2 separate regions of the Homo sapiens genome follow, and region 2 is linked to region 1. The links are contacts of gene promoters, found by promoter capture Hi-C in blood cells and fetal thymus (Javierre and others, 2016). All regions are on one chromosome and are shown on one strand. The core of a region is centred on a gene start or on the middle of the fragment in contact, and the rest is flanking DNA. Distances in the headings are between cores, read along the strand shown. Region 1 holds the start of PDXP (pyridoxal phosphatase). Region 2 holds the start of IFT27 (intraflagellar transport 27).

Evidence for each region. The method cuts DNA at HindIII sites, captures the fragments that hold promoters and counts their contacts. A CHiCAGO score of 5 or more calls a contact.
Region 2: a fragment that was not itself captured here is called in contact with the fragment with the promoter of PDXP in region 1 in 1 of 17 cell types (fetal thymus); the score reaches 7.6 in fetal thymus.

What each region holds. Positions count from the first base shown.
Region 1 is chr22:37,657,178-37,660,402 of GRCh38, forward strand. It overlaps PDXP (pyridoxal phosphatase), which reads left to right and starts at 1,546. Exons shown (of 2, transcript NM_020315.5): 1 at 1,546-2,179. The coding sequence starts at 1,606. PDXP-DT (PDXP divergent transcript) reads right to left here and starts at 1,200. Exons shown (of 6, transcript NR_109952.1): 1 at 1,078-1,200. RefSeq lists enhancers at 1,103-1,172, 1,183-1,232, 1,421-1,922, 2,749-3,225 and silencers at 1,423-1,732, 1,933-2,042. The HindIII fragment of the contact is 9,798 bases long and covers 1,197-3,225 here.
Region 2 is chr22:36,775,505-36,778,566 of GRCh38, forward strand. IFT27 (intraflagellar transport 27) reads right to left here and starts at 615. Exons shown (of 7, transcript NM_001177701.3): 1 at 170-615. The coding sequence starts at 203. RefSeq lists silencers at 177-236, 367-416 and enhancers at 315-878, 657-916, 1,444-2,007. The HindIII fragment of the contact is 727 bases long and covers 888-1,614 here.

The sequences.
Region 1 (3,225 bases), core at 296-2,795:
TTATTTTTTATTTTTTGTTTATTTTTTTTTGAGATGGAGTCTCGCTCTGTTGCCCAGGCTGGAGTGCATTGGCACGATCTCAGGTCGCTGCAAGCTCCGCCTCCTGGGTTCAAGCAATTCTCCTGCCTCAGCCTCCCGAGTAGCTGGGACTACAGGCACCCGCCACCACGCCTAGCTAATTTTTTTCTTTTTTTTTTTTTTTTTTTTTGTATTTTTAGTAGAGACGGGGTTTCACCGTAGCCAGGATGGTCTCGATCTCCTGACCTCGTGATCCGCCCACCTCAGCCTCCCAAAGTGCTGGGATTACAGGCGTGAGCCACCGAGCCCGGCCCTGAAGGTGAAATTTTTAAAGGAAAAAGGAACATTCAGGCCAAGGAGACTATCTATGCAAAGGCCAGGAGCAAAAGGCTTAGGGCACTTGGGGAATAGGAGCTAGTTGAGCTTCCAAGGTTGGGTACAAGGTACAGTTTTTCCCAAGTCGTTGGAGCTCCAGTTGCTCCTGGGGGTCACAGCCTTATCTGAAGTTGGCAGACAACTTCAAAACTGTGACACCACAGCTCACAATTCATTCATCCCCACACTGCAGACCAGTGGCTCCTCAAAGGTCCCAAGACCTGTGGTTGCTTCCAGATCACAAGGCCTCCTCCCTAAGACAGGGACCCAGCCAACCTGGGTCACCCCATTACTATTCTGGGCAATTGGCCACGACCATTCTGGATCCTGCCCTCCCGGGGCGTGCTGCAGTGACAGCCTACCAGCCTCTAGCCCAGTGCTTCCCTACCCTATCCTAGCTCACGGTAGAATCCCTGGAATTAAACCAACTAACCAACAAACCAAAAAATGCCCAGTCTTCACCCAAAACACTTACATGAGGATCTGTCCTGCTACACATCGGTGATTTCAAAAGCATTTGTCAAGACATTGAACTGTACATTTAAGATCTATGCATTTTACTATATGTAAATGATATCTGAAAATAAGTTCCCAGGGGACTCTAACGCAGTGTGAAGAACTACTGGTCTAGACCGAGGGCTCCAGCACCCAAGAAGACACCATGTGCCTCGTACCCCATCGTACACACACGTTTCTTGGGACTTCGCTCTGAACTGGAGCGTCCACGATTCAGGGGGCAATGAGATTCGACCCAAAGGCAGTTCATTTAACATCTGTTTTTCTCCCAGCAACCAGCTCGCCTAAGCTTCTGATTGGCTGGAGGGCACGGGGCCTTTCGCTTCGCGTTTTGTTTGTAGATTCTTATTGGTTAAGAAGAGCGTCAGTCTCCCACCGCGTAAGAGTGTAGTCGGCGTTGAAACTCGGCGGCGACTGGTCCAGCAGAACCAGGGACGGGGAGAAGGATCAAGCTAGCTCTTCATTGGTCCCTTCCCCTCGGTGTTGGCCACGAATCCGCCCCTCTCTCCAAGTTCCGTTAGCTCGCGGCTTCGCTCCTCTCCCAGACTCTCGCCCCCATTGGCTGCAGGCCACGCCGTCGCCCCGCCCCCCGGTCCTTCCAGCGCGCCAATTGGCGGCTGCGTGGAACGTGCCAGGGAGAGCGCGCCGTGCCCGCGGAGAGAGCGCGGCGCGGGAGGCCGGCGGCCGGCCGGCTGCATGGCGCGCTGCGAGAGGCTGCGCGGAGCGGCCCTGCGCGACGTGCTGGGCCGGGCGCAGGGGGTCCTGTTCGACTGTGACGGGGTGCTGTGGAACGGCGAGCGCGCCGTGCCGGGCGCCCCGGAGCTGCTGGAGCGGCTGGCGCGGGCCGGCAAGGCGGCTCTGTTTGTGAGCAACAACAGCCGGCGCGCGCGGCCCGAGCTGGCCCTGCGCTTCGCGCGCCTCGGCTTCGGGGGGCTGCGCGCCGAGCAGCTCTTCAGCTCCGCGCTGTGCGCCGCGCGCCTGCTGCGCCAGCGCCTGCCCGGGCCTCCGGACGCGCCGGGCGCCGTGTTCGTGCTGGGCGGCGAGGGGCTGCGCGCCGAGCTGCGCGCCGCGGGGCTGCGCCTGGCCGGGGACCCGAGCGCGGGGGACGGCGCGGCCCCGCGCGTGCGCGCCGTGCTTGTGGGCTACGACGAGCACTTCTCCTTCGCCAAGCTGAGGGAGGCGTGCGCGCACCTGCGCGACCCCGAGTGCCTACTCGTGGCCACCGACCGTGACCCATGGCACCCGCTGAGCGACGGCAGCCGGACCCCTGGTGAGCGCGGGAATGGCGGGGAAACTGAGATGGGGGCGACCTGCGCATTCGCCTCCACGCCTAAGGGTGAGGGGCGGGGAAGAGGCGTCTCCAGGTGGCAGGTGGGGAACAGGAGAGTGCGAGGGAGGCCCAGGGTGCTTTGGTGTGGGGGGCGGTTGATCCCTGTAGCCGTCATCCTGTGAGGCGCAGCAGTGTGGTCCCTGTTGGACAGATGAGGAAACTGAGGCCCTTTGTAACTTAGGGAGTTGGGCGGAATTCTGCCCTACCCACCATCGGGGTGGGGTTGGAGAGGAAGCCTGGGAGGATTGTCCCCCTGTGTGAGGGTTGAAACACCATTCCCAGAGGCAGGGTGTAGGCAGGTGTGTGGGGAGCAAAGGCGGTGGAGTTTGACCTCAGTTCCAGGTCCAGCTCCAGCTTCACAGCTGTGTAATCGTGTTCAGTTACATAACCTCCAAGCATCTCTGCCTGGGTGAGAAATGGCAGTGCTCAGCATGCCCGGTGACGGTGATCAGGGTGAGTGCCTGGCACATAGTAGGTGTTCAGATGATGTAAGTTGTAGCCAGAGTCCCCCATGTTACAGAGAACTTAATGAAACAGCTTTGTGTGTGTTCTTCTTTGGTTTCCAAATTACTCTGGAGATGGAAGTTATTGTCCCATTTCTCAAGTAAAGAGACTGAGGCAGCCGGATGCAGTGGCAACAGCCTGTAGTCCCAGCTACTCGAGAGGCTGAGGCGGGAGGATTGCTTGAGCCTAGGAGGTCAAGGCTGTAGCGTGCTATCATTGCATCTGTGAAAAGCCACTGTACTTCAGCATGGGCAACATAGTGAGACCTTATCTCTAAAAGAAGAGGAAAGAAACTGAGACTAAGAGAAGGGAAGTGAGCTGCCCAAGAACAGATATAGTGAGCCCCTCCACCTCCTGTGTCCCCACACACCTGCCTCCATCCTGCCTCTGGGAATTGGTGTTTCAGCCCTCACAAGTAGGGACAGTCCTCGCAGGCTTCCCCTCCAACCCTCCAACCGCACCCCAATGATGGGTGGGGCAGA
Region 2 (3,062 bases), core at 1-2,500, 880 kb before region 1:
TCATTCTTCCACGCCTAACGTAATTTACTGTATCAGTAATTGCAGTAACTCGCCTTTGGGAGAGAGAAAGGAAAAGGTAGGCAATTTAGGTGAACAAAAGCTCTGGATGAATTATGAAGGCTCTGGACTCCAGAGACCACCGTATTCAAGCGCAAGTTTTCAGACTCACCTGCCAGGATGCATTTGGCTGCCAGCTTCACCATGGTAACCAACACTCCCGCGAGCCGTACCCAGAGGACAAGAGCGGCTGCTAGAGACGCGAGTGGGTGGGCTTCGGGCCCTGGGCTGGCCTGGGACGGGAAGGTGGGGAGGGGAGGGCTGATCTCAAGGGTCAGTGGCCGCGACGGGACTGGGGATGACCGAGCCCGGCCCTTCTGGGCCGGGGGCGGATATCGGGCGCTGGGGGCGGGTGGGCAGGGGAGGGCTCCAGGTGGGCCCGGCTCGAGGCCTGACACGGCAGTCTGAAAAGGTGCAAGCGAGCGGACACGGCCTGTGCTCCCCGCCCAGCCCCTCAGCACAGCCCTACCCAGAGGGTTCAAGGAAGGACGATCCGGCTCTCCTCCGATCACAAGTACCGGGCCGGATGCACTCTCCAAGCAACCATAGCCCACCTGCCCCGCCTCCTCCTCCTCCTCGCTGACCCTCGATTGGTTGCCGCCAAAAGCTCCCACCCTCAAGGTCTCACAAAAATCCAATGGGAGTAGAGAGCTGGGATAACAGCCTTTTCTTGAGATGCAATTCGTAGAGTTATCAGTTCTTCAAGTTCAGTCTGCTTGACGAGTGGTTGTAATTGACGTCAACCAGCTTTATATCCCGCCCCCGCTGCGCCTGAGAGTCCCGAGATAAAGAAGCCTCCACGTCAAGCAGTCAGAAGCGGTGACAAGAGAAGCTTTCTGATTGGTCAGAGTCTGGCTTGACCCATCTTCGGGAGGAATAGGGATTCGCCACTCCCGCTGTCCTTCTAGAAGTGGGTTCGCCTACAATGGGGCAGGTTGGGCTCTAGGCGGTCTGGAGCGGCGCCTGCGCAGTGGGCCAGGCCGCCGCTGTAGAGGTCGTTTTGACTTGCTCTGACTTCGCGCGGTTCTCGCGGCTTCCCCGGTTCCCGGGTTCTGCACAGCGCGGCTATTAAAGTGCATGGAGAAGTGCAGTCCTTGCCCCGCATCCCGCAGGGAAATCTCATTTTAAAAGCTCAAAGATGTAATGAGCGTTAAAATCTAAAATATGAAGGTGTTTTATTAAAGTGATGTTTGTGAACAAAGGGAGAACAAATACACTTTGATGGGGCTAAGCGGTGAGACTCGGAAACTTGAAGTCGTACTTTGCTCTTAGTCCATTTACTCTCTGCAAAAGGAGAATGCATCACTAACCTCGTTTGCCCGTCACCCAGGGAGGCTCTCTGTACGCGTTTACTGGGTTGGGGGTGCCTCTTGCACGTGGTTAGGGGGTCAGAGACCTAAATCCCTGGCCTGGACAAGTCACCTCATCCCTCAGCCTCAGGATGGGCCTAGGAGAACCCGCCTTGTGGGGTGGTTGTGGAGATGGAAGGAGAGAAACGTATGAGTGCCTGGGAGATAGTAGGTGCACACGTGATTGTGGGGTGGATGGGAGAGCGGAAGCTTATCTGGACAGATTTGGTTTATCATCACTGTCACTGGTTGGCCGAATGTACCCCTTGTTCTCACTTTCTCAGGGCCCCTGGGATTCTGATGGCTGATGCTGAAGGGAAGAGCAGCCCCTCAGCAAAGGTGCCTGTGCGAAAGTTCCACATTCCCTCCAGACACCTAGAACATTCCACCTCTCCGCCACTCTGCATCTCAGAGTGGCTGCCAGCCTTGTGTGGGGGAATAAACACACACACTCTATGAATGGCTGATGGTTTCAGCCCCGAATCCAGAGTAAATGCAAGTTGTCTGAGATGTTCTTTCCTTGGGATTCATTCCTGGCGCTACGGTAAAGGTCTGTTTCTCCTTCATTTCTCGTAACTGCTTTTCTTCTTTGGTGACATCACGTGAGTCTGTCTCAGACATCCAGGTCTGAGTGAGCAAAAAGCCTCTTTCTGGTCTTCTGCCTTCCTCTTGCCGGCTCCCCTCCAGGCCAACCTGTTCACCATGAGTGACCCTGTTAATCCCTTAAAGGACCCCATTTGGTGAGTCACCCTCCCGAGGCAGCTCCACGTAGCTAAGACACAGACACACATCAGGGCAGCCTCCGAAGCCTTGGTTCCTTCATTTTGCGAGGTGGGTAATGACAGAGCCGGAGCATAGCCATCTTGGACAAGCACTGCCATTTTAAAGTTCTCCTTGATCAAAAACGGCCTAAATTCAACCCAAAGGGCATCAGCCTAATGGCTAATGTCAGAATGACCATAAACCACAAGTGACATCTCCAATCAGAAACATTCCAACCCTAAGATAAACCCACCCCCCGACCAGAGACATGCAGCCCCAAGATAACCTCCCCTCTGGTCAGAGAGATGTCAGCCCCAACATAACCCACCCTCAGACCGGAGACATTCCAACCCCACAGTAAACTTCTCCTCCACACAGAAACATTCCAAGCCTGTGGTAAGCTCTCTTGCCCTAAACCCTTAAATACTCTTAGTCTGTAAGAGAGAGCACTCCTGACTGAAATTGGCCAGAAGCCCCTCTCAGGTTTATGCTCCAAAATAAACCTGTATTTAACTGTTGAGCCACTTTTCATGTTTCTTGCCTCTTTCTTTAACTCTTGCAGGTAATAATCACACCTCCCTCCCAGGGCTGTTCTCTGTTCCCCACCCACTGTCTCCCTTTTGTTGCTGCTACTCTGTGTGATTTTAGTCAGCATTATCATAAGAGCATTGTAGAACTTTCTAGAGAGATGGTAAACACTTGTATGGTGAATTCTGTCCCCCTTCACCTCATGGACCCAAGGGCCTTCTATACATTTCTGTGACTGAAGGTAAGCTGAATGAGAGTCACTAGGTTTAAGGTGGTCAGAGAATTTTGGAGCCATGGGGGCTCCTGAGCAATTCGAGTTATCCCATTTCTGAGCAGCTCTAATAGTCACAGCTGGCCTATGTTGAC